3 separate regions of the Homo sapiens genome follow, and regions 2 and 3 are each linked to region 1. The links are contacts of gene promoters, found by promoter capture Hi-C in blood cells and fetal thymus (Javierre and others, 2016). All regions are on one chromosome and are shown on one strand. Each heading gives the region's core, a stretch centred on a gene start or on the middle of the fragment in contact. The rest is flanking DNA. Distances are from core to core; before and after follow the strand shown.

Evidence for each region. Contacts are between HindIII fragments. The CHiCAGO score rates a contact against its expected background, and 5 or more counts as called.
Region 2: a fragment that was not itself captured here is called in contact with the fragment with the promoter of IRGC in region 1 in 5 of 17 cell types (monocytes, total B cells, activated CD4 T cells and 2 more); the score reaches 6.5 in monocytes.
Region 3: a fragment that was not itself captured here is called in contact with the fragment with the promoter of IRGC in region 1 in 8 of 17 cell types (total CD8 T cells, naive CD4 T cells, naive CD8 T cells and 5 more); the score reaches 8.2 in total CD8 T cells.

What each region holds. Positions count from the first base shown.
Region 1 is chr19:43,714,006-43,717,990 of GRCh38, reverse strand. IRGC (immunity related GTPase cinema) reads right to left here and starts at 1,915. Exons shown (of 2, transcript NM_019612.4): 1 at 1,849-1,915. RefSeq lists an enhancer at 1,442-1,942. The HindIII fragment of the contact is 15,065 bases long and covers 1-3,985 here.
Region 2 is chr19:43,444,280-43,448,479 of GRCh38, reverse strand. No RefSeq gene overlaps it. Among named protein-coding and RNA genes, the nearest start is that of LYPD3, 19 kb to the left of the region's middle. The HindIII fragment of the contact is 1,160 bases long and covers 1,756-2,915 here.
Region 3 is chr19:43,410,027-43,413,895 of GRCh38, reverse strand. It overlaps a transcript of TEX101 not described here. Among named protein-coding and RNA genes, the nearest start is that of TEX101, 2.9 kb to the left of the region's middle. RefSeq lists a silencer at 619-805. The HindIII fragment of the contact is 751 bases long and covers 1,157-1,907 here.

The sequences.
Region 1 (3,985 bases), core at 666-3,165:
CTCTAGCAATCCTCCCACCTCAGCCTCCTGAACAGCTGGGACCACAGGCGCATGCCACCATGCCCAGCTACTTTTTAAATTTTTTGTAGAGATGGGAGTCTCACTATGTTGTCCCAGCTGGTCTTGAACTTCCGAGATCAAGGTCCTCCTGCCTCAGCTTCCCAGAGCGCTGGGATTAAGGGCATGAGCCACTATGCCTGGCCTGAAATTCTTTATAATATTTGAACCAGGGGCCCCATATTTTCATTTCGTACTGGGCCTTGCAAATTATATAGCCAGGGCAAATTACATAGCCAGGGCTGCATAGGAAAGGGTGGTACAGGCCCATTCAGAGGAAACAGCTGCACTCCTGCGGTGGCTGGGATTGGAGGGTAGGGTGGAGGGGACCCAGACCCGGAGCCAGACTGCCTGGGATCAAATCCTGGCTCCACCACATACTTACTGAGTGATGTGAGGCAAGTTACTTAACTCTCTCCTCACTCTCCTCATCTGAACACTGAGAATGATACCTACAATCCTGGCAAACCACCTCCTAGGATCTCTGTGACTTGAATGAGTTATGACATAAAGCAGCCCATAAAACGGCGCCTGGCTCAGGGCAGGTGCCTCGTGTCATTGGCATCACCATCATCGTCATTATTCTTATCATTAGTAATATTCTTAGCTGTGTGACTTTGAGCAAGTCCTCGCCCTGTCTGAGCCTCAGCTGCCCCGTGGGGGATACTCCTCCCCACCTCGCAGGGCTGCTGTGATGCCCACAAACCCCGTTCAGCTAGCCCTAGGCTGACTTTGGGTTCAGACGCCCTTGGGTTCGGGAAGCCAGACATGGGGACCACCTGGACACCAGGAGTCATTTCCATGAAACCCCACCCCTGCCATGGCAGCCCTTGCCTCCCGGGGTTCAGTTCCCCTCCCACCGCCCAGAGCTCCTGTCGTGATGGTCCCCCCTCAGATCCCTCCTCCTCACCAGGAGCTTCCCTGGTCCTCCCTCTTCCCACTCACCCTCCTCTGGCCCATCATCTCTAAAATACATTTACTCACTAAGGGTCTTCAGGGTGCCCTGGGAGAGCTGCTCATGTCTGGGATCACTGTCCCCATTTGACAGGGAGAAGGACTGAGGCTCAGACAAGACAAATGAGGTCTCCTCATCCAGAGGCATAGCCAGGACCCCAACCCAGGTCCCCAGGCTCCTTCACCCACCTAGAGAGCTACTCTCCCTTCAGCTGCATGTCCCTGCCTCCTGCATTGTCTCCTTGCCCCCTGCACCCCGTCTCTTCACCTCCTACCACTCACCCCATCCTCTGCTACCCCACTCCACCCCCCACAGAAATATGTCCTTAAGACATTGTTCCCGGCTGGGCATGGTGGCTCACGCCTGTAATCCTAGCACTTTGGGAGGCCGAGGTGGGTGGATCACTTGAGGTCAGGAGTTCGAGACCAGCCTGGCCAACATGGTGAAACTCCATCTCCACTAAAAATACAAAAATTAGCCAGGTGTTGTGGCGCATGCCTGTAGTCCCAGCTCTTGAACCCAGGAGGCGGAGGTTGCAGTGAGCCAAGATTGCACCACTGCACTCCAGCCTGGGCGACAGAGCGAGACTCCGTCTCAGAAAAAAAAAAAGGAAAAAAAAAAGACATTGTTGCCTCCAGATCTGAGCCTCCTATCCTGGGTGTGCCCTCTCCCTAGTATGGTCTGCGGTGGGAAGAGTAGGAACCTGGAACAGGTCCTGGCAGCAAGGGGCAGACAAGTCAGTGGTTGGAATTTGGGCTGAGGGGGTCCGGATTAGACCATAAGCTCCTGCTCCGCCCACGCACAGGGGCCCAGCGAGAGAGCCCTGGGGGACTCACCTGCCCTGCAGGCTCTCCCTCTCCCCTCACACTCTCCCCACTGATAGGATCTCCTTCCCTCTTAGCCAAGGTCAGACACCGTTGCTAGGACCCATTATCATAGCAAGCAGCAGCTTATTGGTCAGCCAGACCTGGTGCAATAATGCGACAGTGATGTCAGGGGGTGGGGCCCGGAGGTGGAGCAGGGACCCCAAGCCCCAGCTGCTCATGGGGTCACCACCCACTCACACTGGGCCCTCCAGTTCCCCTGAAGACTCCAGAGAGATCTTTCTAACACCAAGACCTGTTCAAAATCCTCCATGGTCTCCATCACCCCCCAAGGACAAAGTCTCAGATTCACAGATTGGTTTCCAAGGGCTTGGCCCTGCTACCACTCCACCCTCCACCCAGGGGACTGTCAGTTCCCCAGAGAAGTGTGAAAGTTGATGATACAAATTCGGTCATTGCTGGTGGGCACAGTGGCTCACGCCTGTAATGCCAGCACTTTGGGAGGCCGAGGCGAGTGCATCACTTGAGGCCAGGAGTTTGAGATCAGCCTGGGCAATGTGGTGAAACTCCATCTCTACTAAAAATACAAAAATTAGCCAGATGTGGTGCATGCATGTAGTCCCAGCTACTCGGGAGGCTGATCTGCTATCTTGTAAGCCCAATAATTTAGTCATTGATTTCTTTTTTTTCTTTTTTTGAAACAGTGTCTTGCTCTGTCACCCAGGCTGGAGTGCAGTGACACAATCTTGGCTCACTGCAACCTCCGCCTCCTGGGTTCAAGTGATTCTCCTGCTTCAGCCTCCTGAGTAGCTGGGACTACTAGCATGCACCACCAGGCTTGGCTAATTTTTTTTTTTTTTTTTTTTTTTTAGTAGAGGTGGGGTTTCACCATGTTGCCTAGGCTGGTCTTGAACTCCTGACCTCAGGTTATCCGCCTGCCTCGCCTCCCAAACCTCCTGACCTCAGGTTATGCCGCCTCCCAAAGCGCTAAGATTACAGGTGTAGCCACTACACCCGGCCCCTTCTTGTCCTTTATAAGTGTCTCTGTCCTGTCTCCCCTCCGGGCTTCCTCTCTGCCCAGGCCAGGCTCCACAGGGCCTTCTCCATTCTCCTCTTGTAGGGAATTTACAATAACGCTACTCAGAGGATTTTCCTGACCATCTGCAGGCCAGTTCTGGAAAGGAGCCTCTGAGAACAACTAAGGAGAGAGAGGCCCAGAAGGGGAATAGACTAGCTCAGAGCCACCCTGAGAGCTGGGGAAGAGTGGGCTGTTGGCCGCATAGTACAGAGTTCTTAAGCCACAGGTGAAAGGGAGGTGCAGGGCAAAAGACACACGACTCACTCATGCTCTCACTGACTGACACAAACACACAGAGCTGAAGAGAGTGAACAACATGGTTCTCAGACTTCCCCGGACACCGAGCACACAGACCAGCAGACAGCAAGGACTCCTTCCCAAAATGCATGGACACGCACCCCTGGCCCAAGAGAGAAGGGAAAGACACAGAAAGAGCCTCAAATACAGAGTTACTTCGTGGCTGGGCATGGCGGCTCACTCACGCCTGTAATCTCAGCAATTTGGGAGGCCGAGGTAGGAGGTTTGCTTGAGCCCAGGAGGTTGAGACCAGCCTGGGCAACATAGCAAGACCCTATCTCTTTTTTTTTTTTTTTTTTTTGAGACGGAGTCTCGCTCTGTCTCCCACGCTGGAGTGCAGTGGTGCAATCTCGGCTCACTGCAAGCTCCGCCTCCCGGGTTCCTGCCATTCTCCTGCCTCAGCCTCCCGAGTAGCTGGGACTACAGGCGCCTGCCACCGCGCCTGGCTAAATTTTTTTGTATTTTTTAGTAGAGACGGGGTTTCACCGTGTTAGCCAGGATGGTCTCGATCTCCTGACCTCGTGATCCGCCCACCTCGGACTCCCAAAGTGCTGGGATTACAGGCGTGAGCCACCGTGCCTGGCCAAGACCCTATCTCTTAAAAAAAAAAAAAAAATGAGCCAGGTATGATGGTGCACATCTGTAGTCCCAGCTACTCAGGAGGCTGAGGTGGGAGGATTGCTTGAGCCCAGGAGTTCAAGGCTGCAGTGAGCCGTGATCATGCTACTGCACTCCAGCCTGGGTGACTGAGCAAGATTCTGTCTCTAAACGAAA
Region 2 (4,200 bases), core at 1,086-3,585, 270 kb after region 1:
TTCTAGGGAAGGGGTAATGACTTTTGGCTTGTGGGGTTATTGGCATGGAAAGGGGCAGTAACTCCCAGGTGTTGCCATGGCAACGGTAAACTGACGTGGCATACTGGTGGGCGTGTATTATGGGAAACTGCTTAGCTAGTCCTCAATTTGGTCCCATACCCAAGTCCCACCTCTGGAGGTGAGTCCAGCCTCCCACCTCAAAAACAGTGGCATTGGCCAGGCGCGGTGGCTCACGCCTGTAATCCCAGCACTTTGGGAGGCCAAGGCAGGCAGATCTCTTGAAGTCAGGAGTTTGAGACCAGCCTGGCCAACATGGTGAAAACCCATCTCTACTAAAAATACAAAAAAAATTAGTCAGGCCTGGTGGCGGGCCTGACTAATCCCAGCTACTCAAGAGGCTGAGGCAGGAGAATCGCTTGAACCCAGGAGGCGGAGGTTGCAGTGAGCCGAGACCATGCCGCTGCACTCCTGCCTGGGCAACAGAGTGATACTCTGTCTCGAACTCCCCCCACAACAAAAAAACAAAACAAAAAAGCCCCCCAAGCCCCAGAAAAACAAACAAAAAACAGTGGCATCTTGGTGGGGCGCGGTGGCTCATGCCTGTAATCCCAGCACTATGCGAGGCTGAGATGGGAGGATCACTTGAGCCCATGAGTCTGCCCAGCTTGGGCAATATAGCGAGACCCCATCTCTGCTAAAATACAAAAATTAGCTGAGTGGTACGCACCTGTGGTCTCAGCTACTAGGGAGTTTGAGTGCTCACCTAGCAAGCTAAAGTGCAGTAAGATAATCCAGAATGCAAGTACCACTCTAGTGACAACCATCATCACTAGTGTCATCAAGGGCACTTCATATAAAAGTGCCAGTGTGCATCAGGGATAAGAGTGAGACAACATCCACTGGTTCACGGTGAACCGATGAAACAAGAACAACAATTAGGAATTTATTAGGATCAACAGGACTATCCTAAATATCAGCAGTAAATTAGCACATCACAAGAAACTCATGAACATGGGTTAACAAAATGAACCACTGATAAGCCAACTTTTCTGTGTCAAAAGGTGGGAGGTTCACTTGAGCCCAGGATGACGAGGCTGCAGAGAGCCGAGATTGCGCCACCGCACTCCAGCCTGGGTGACAGAGCAAGACCCTGCCTCAAAACAAACAAACAAAACAAGAACAGTGGCACCTTAACTGTTAATTATACGAGAAACTGGGAGCTCCTGTAGGGTTTTCACCCTGCAAGTCAGATTGGTGTTTTCCATGCGCCCTCTGGCGGCTTGGAGCAGCAATGTCAGCTAAGCATCAGCATCCAGCCCCTGGCTGGACTCTCGGAAAGTACTACTGCTATTTGGCGAATGCACTTGCACCAACATTCACCTAAATCTGCAGCAGACACAGGGACAAAGCTCTGTCTGGGTTTCCAGGACATCTTCTCAGAGGTCGTGATGGATAAGACCAGGAGCGGGATCTTAAATAACAAGGAGCACGTGCAGAGGCCTGAGCGAACATGCCTTGTGTCCGGAACTGGGTGCAGCAACCTGGGAGAGAGCAGGGAGATGAGGCTGGGGAATTAGGTCAGGCCCATTTGGGAAAGAACCTTGGCATTGGGACTTTGTGCTGTAAACCAGTTTGGAGATTGTGAACCATCAAGCTTCAAAGACAAAATTGGAGGGTCAAGCATTAAGGATGTCAACTTTTTATTTTGTTAGTAGGGTCTTAAAAAAACAACTATTCTTATTCATTCTAAAAGCTTTTAATGAACACCTACTGTGTGTTAGGGAATGTTCTGGGCAGGATCTGAGTCTGCATTGCTCACTATTGTATACCCTCAGAGTCTAGAGTCATGGAAAGGCCCCAAAAGAAGGGATGAATGAAATGAAAGATCATTGCTAAAGCAAGGTCAGGGTGGAGATGAACTGCCAGGGGTGAGTCCAAGCTGGGTGAGATTGTGGATGAGTTTGGAGACAGAAAAGAATAAAGGTGAAAGTGCTTAGTCCGGCCAGGCGTGTTGGCTCATGACTGTAATCCCAGCACTTTGGGAGGCTGAGGCAGGCAGATCATGAGGTCAGGATTTCGAGACCAGCATGGCCAACATGGTGAAACCCCACCTCTAATAAAAATACAAAAATTAGCCAGGCGTGGTGGCAGGTGCCTGTAATCCCAGCCCCTCGGGAGGCTGAGGCAAGATAATTGCTTGAACCCGGGAGGTGGAGGTTGCAGTAAGCCAAGATTGCCCCACTGCACTCCAGCCTGGTGACAGAGCAAGACTCTGTCTCAAAAAAAAAAAAAAGAGAAAGTGTTCAGTCCTTGAACTGTCAAAAGACAAAATCACAACAAATTTGCTTATAGATTCCCTCCCACCTCAGCCTCCCAAATAGCTGGGATTACAAGTATGCACCATCATGCCTGGCTAATTTTTATGTCTTTACAAAAGATACATGTTGGCCAGGCTGGTCTCGAACTACTGACCTCAAGTGATCCACCTGCCTTGGCCTCCCAAAGTGCTGGGATTACAGGCATGAGCCACTGTGCCCAGCCTGCTTAAAGATCTTAACTGGTTATTATTTGTGATTTTAGAATTGGGCAACATCGAATTATAAGAGACAGAATGAGTATTCTGATGAGTCGAGCAAAAGAGGTTGGTTTTATAGACAGAAAGGGCAGAGACTGCAGAAACAGAGAAGAAAAAGTGTATTGGCCATTTCAAAATTACTTTCCTTGTAAAGGTTAAAGGACAGGGGTTTCCTTATCATGCAGGCTAAAACTGGCCTGCTTGGGGACTTGGCTGTTATCTTTCACTCTCCTGATTTTTTGGAAGGTCAGGTAAAACAATTGAGTTTTGGCTTGGTGATGTGGAAGTTAGCACGAGTGACTCCATTTTGGTTTGGTCTGTTGGGCTTTGCACAGAAGCTTGGTCCAAACTAGTGGCCTCTGGTAAATTTCATTGAACAATATTATTATTAGTTTTTTTCTTTCTTGAAAGAGGGCCTCACTCTGTCACCCAGGTTGGAGTGCAGTGGCGTGATCATAGCTCACTGCAGTCTTGACCTCCCAGGCTCAAGCCATCTTCCCAGTTCAGCCTGGAGAGTAGCTGGGATTACAGGTGTGTGCCACCACACCTGTCTAATTTCTTGTAGAGATGGGGTCTCACTTTGTTGCCCAGGTTGGTCTTGAACTCCTGGGCTCAAGCAATTCTCCCACCTTGGCCTTCCAAAGCATTGGGATTACAGGCATGAGTCACCATGCCTGGCCAATAATGGTTAACTTTTGAAACACTCCAGTGGCTTCTCTTCTCATTTAGCGGAAGCACTGTGCCCTTGGCATGCCCACAGGGTCTGGCCCTGACCGCTGTGCTGGCCGCAACTTCTTGCACTAACCACTGCCTGCTCCGCTGCAGCCACGCAGGTCTCCTGGATGAGCCTTAGCCACAGAGACCCATTCCCTTCTCAGAACCTTTGCACTTCCTGTTCCTTCTGCCTGCAATGCCCATCCTGCATTTACCAACAGCTATGCGACAAACACTCATGGCACCAAGCACAGTTCTGAGCTGTGAGAGGAAAATAAATATTGGGGCCCCAAAATCACCAAAGCTAAAGGGAAAAGTCAAGCTGGGAACAGCTTAGGGTGAACCTGCCTCCCATTCTATTCAAAGTCACCGCTCTGCTCACTGAGATAAATGCATATCTCATTGCCCCATTTGGAGAGGCTAATCAGAAACTGAAAAGAATGCAACTACCAGCATGGTGGCTTATGCTTGTCATCCTAGCACTTTGGGAGTTCGAGGCGGATGGTTCACCTGAGGTCAGGGGTTCGAGACCAGCCTGGTCAACATAGCGACACCCCCGTCTCTACTAAAAATGCAAAAATTAGCCAGGCGTGGTGGTGGGTGCCTGTAATCCCAGTTACTCGGGAGGCTGAGACATGAGAATAGCTTGAACCCGGGAGGCGGAGGTTGCAGTGAGCCAAGATCTCACGATTGCACTCCAGCCTGGATGACAGAGTGAGACTCCGTCTCAACAACAACAACAGCAGCAGCAACAGCAACAACAACAACAAATTAGCCGGGCATGGTGGCACATGCCTGTAATCCCAGTTACTCTGGAGGCTGAGGCAGAAGAATCACTTGAACCCAGCAGGCAGAGGCTGCAGTGAGACAAGGTTGCGCCACTACGCTCCAGCCTAGGGCAACAGAGCAAG
Region 3 (3,869 bases), core at 283-2,782, 300 kb after region 1:
GCAACCTCCCTCTCCCAGGTTCAAGCGATTCTCATGCCTCAGTCTCCCCTGAGCAGCTAGGATTACAGGCACCTGCCACCACACCTGGCTAATTTTTGTATTTTTAGTAGAGACGGGGTTTCGCCGTGTTGACCAGGCTGGTCTTGAACTCCTAACCTCAGGTGATCTGCCCACCTCGGCCTCCCAGAGTACTGGGATTACAGACGTGAGCCACCACCCCTGGCCTATGTAAGCTTTCCAGGTGTGACATGAAGTTGTAGCAGGATGAGCTGCAGACAAAACTCCTCAGATACTGGATTAAAGAAGGAAGAGGTTTATTTGGCCGGGAGCCTCAGCAGACTTGCGTCTTAAGAGCCGAGCTCCCTGAAAAATAAATTCTTGGCCTTTTTTTTTTTTTTTGGAGTCTCCCTCTGTTGCCCAGGCTGGAGTGCAGTGGTGCAATCTCGGCTCACTGCAAGCTCTGCCTCCCGACTTCATGCCATTCTCCTGCCTCCGCCTCCCGAGTAGCTGGGACTACAGTCACCCACCACCACACCCGGCTAATTTTTTTGTATTTTTAGTAGAGATGGGGTTTCACTGTGTTAGCCAGGATGGTCTCGATCTCCTGACCTCGTGATCCGCCCGCCCCCCAAAGTGCTGGGATTACAGGCATGAGCCACCACGCCTGGCCAATTCTTGGCCTTTTTAAAGGCTTACAACTTCGAGGGGTCCACATGAAAGGGTCGTGATAAATCGAGCAAGCGTGGGAAACGTGACTGGGGGCTACATGCATCAGGTAACAGAACAGAAAGTTTTGCAATGCTTTTTCATATAATGTCTGGAACTTACAGATAACACAAGTAGTTTAGGTCAGGGGTTGCTGTTATTATTATTACTTTTTTTAACTCCTAGGGCTGGGTGGTGGTGCCAAGGTTGACTGGCTATTTATCTTACTTCTGTTTCTTTCCAACTTTTTGCTTTCTCTCTTTCCTCCTGTCTTGTGAACTAGGCAAGGTCGGGGGAGGAGGGCAGCAGGAGTAGTAGTGGTCTCCTTCCTTAAAGTAAGGCAACGCTTTGTATACTTTCAGAATTGGTACTGATTCTGTAAGTTATAGTATAAATGAGTATTTATTTTTAATAGAGAAAATGCCACAATAAGAAAGGGATTGGTAAAGCTTCAATCCCTTTGTTATCTTTGAACTGTTATCTTTGAATGATCACATGTCAAAGGATCCAGGAAGAATGTGTGCCAGTTTTCAGCCCCCGTCTGTCCCCCGAGGGCTCGTGCTTGGGAAAGCAGTCACCTTGTTGAGTCACTCTCCAGGTGACTTGGTCGCAGAATCCCTCCATCTCACACCTAGAAGAGACCTTGGAAGCCTAAGCACCCTCCACCTCTATTCTTCACCCCATTTCTGCTTCAACAGCTCCAGGGACCTCCTCTTGCTCCGTGACATAGTTTGGATATTTGTCCCCCGCCCAAATCTCATGTTGAAATGTAATTCCCAGTGTTGGAGATGCGACCTGGTGGAAGGTGTTTGGGTTATGGGGGCAGATCCTTCATGACTTGGTGCTGTCCTTGCAATGATGAGTGAGTCCTTGCCAGATCTGGTTGTTTAAGTGTGTGGCACCTCCCCTTCTTACTCTCTCTCGCTCCCCTTCTCTGGCCTGCATCCTTTTGCCATAAGTAAAAGCTCTCTGAGGCCTCCCCAGAAGGAGATGCTGGCACCACGCTTCCTGTACAGCTGCAGAACCTTGAGCCAATCAAACCTCTTTTCTTATAAATTACTTCTAGTCTCAGGTATTTCTTTATAGCAGTGCAAGAACACCCCAATACACAGCCCCTTGAGAAAGGTGGCTTTGCCTTTTTGGTGCAAGAGAGATTGACAGATCTTCCTTAGCCTGAGCCAATTTCTGTTCCTCTCCAAGCTTCAGTGTCCTCATCTAGAAAATGAAGAGGTTAGGCTGGGTGCAGTGGCTCAAGCCCATAATCCCAGCACTTTGGGAGGCCAAGGTGGGTGGTTCACCTGAGGTCAGGAGTTTGAGACCAGCCTGACCTTCACCAACACGGTGAAACCCTGTCTCTGCTAAAAATACAAAAATTAGCCAGGCCTGGTGGCACGCGCCTGTAATCCCAGCTACTTGGGAGGCTGAGGCAGGAGAATCACTTGAACCTGGGAGGCGGAGGTTGCAGTGAGCTGAGACTGCACCATTGCACTCCAGCCTGGGCAACAAGAGCAAAACTTGGTCTTGGTCTCAAAAAAAAAGAAAAAAAAGAAAAAAAAGAAAATGAGGAGGTTAGTCTAGAGCAATGGTTGGCAAATAGTTTATGAATCCATGGAACGTTTGTAAAAAAGAAAAAAGCTCAATGGCTAATATACAGTGAAGGCATCTTTTTATATAAGCACTTGTGACACCACCATTGGTCACTGGATTATTGCAGTACGCCCTGCCCTTGCCCATGTGGCTATTTCCCACCTGGCACCAGAGCGATCTCTTAATTGCAAGCCACACCACATTACTCCTGTTTAAAACTTTCTAATGGGCCAGGCACGGTGGCTCAGGCCTGTAATCCCAGCACTTTGGGAGGCCGAGGTGGTGGATCACCTGAGATCAGGAGTTCGAGACCAGCCTGGCCAACATGGTGAAACCCTGTCTCCACTAAAAATGAAAAAATTAGCTGGGCGTGGTGGTGCGCCCCTGTAATCCCAGCTACTCTGGATGCTGCAGCGAGAGAATCATTTGAACCTGGGAGGTGGAGGCTGCAGTGAGTCAAGATTGTGCTACTGCACTGCAGCCTGGGTGACAGAGCAAGACTCTGTTTCAAAAAAACCAAAACCTTCCAGTGGATTCTCATTTTACCTCAAGTAAGATTCTAGGCTGGGTGCCATGGCTCATGCCTGTAATCCCAACACTTTGGGAGGCTGAGGTGGGAGGATCGCTGGAGCCCAGGAGGTGGAGGTTGCAGTTGCAGTGAGCCGAGATAACGCCACTGTACTCCAGCTTTTGCTCTGGTGACAGAGCAAGACCCTGTCTCAAAAAAAAATTTTTTTTTTGTACTTTATAGTATAATTGGCTATGTGTGTTCATGTGTGACTGTGAGTGCATGCATGTTTGTGTGTGCACATGTCTGTATATATGTATGTCTGTGTGTATCTGTGTGCTGTGTGTGAATGTGTGTCTGATGTGTGTGTCTCGGTGTACATGTCAGTGTGCATGTGTGCATGGGCATGTGTGTATCTGGTTCCTTCCAGCTGTGTCTGATCCATCTCTGTGTACTCAGCATATGATTACAGTGTAGGTAAGTAAACATTTGCTGGATTAAAGAATGTCTCTTAGATCCAGAAATGAGAAACACACAACAGTGAGCCACCACATACCTCAGGCCCTCCGTATTCCATCCTCAGAATTTTTTCCATGCTTCCTGTATTCCTGGGGGAAAATTCCAACCTCCCACACTGGTCTTGGAGACCAGCCCCCATGCCTCACCCTTATCATTCCCTGTCTAATATCTATTCCCAGGACATCCCTAGTCTCTTCCAGCCTCTTTGGCTTTGCTCACACTGGTCCCTCTGCATGGGAGACCTCTCCCTAATCCGCTTCCCCCATGCATTTGTTTACCCCACAAACTCCTAATTGTCCTTCAAAGCCCATTCCTCCAATGCCCACAGCCCTCAGTGAAGCCGGCATAAGCATCGTGCAGCTCCCTTTTTGAGTGCTCCAGTTCTCCTACCAACAGGCCTATGCACACACCCAGTTCCCTCTCAAACCAACAGGCTTTTCCTTCCTACTTGTAAAGGATTGAGATCTTCTGCAAACCTTACAAAACAATGAGTTGTAAGCCTTGAGGTTAAACCACCAGTTTTACTTATTTTTTTTTTGAGACAGGATCT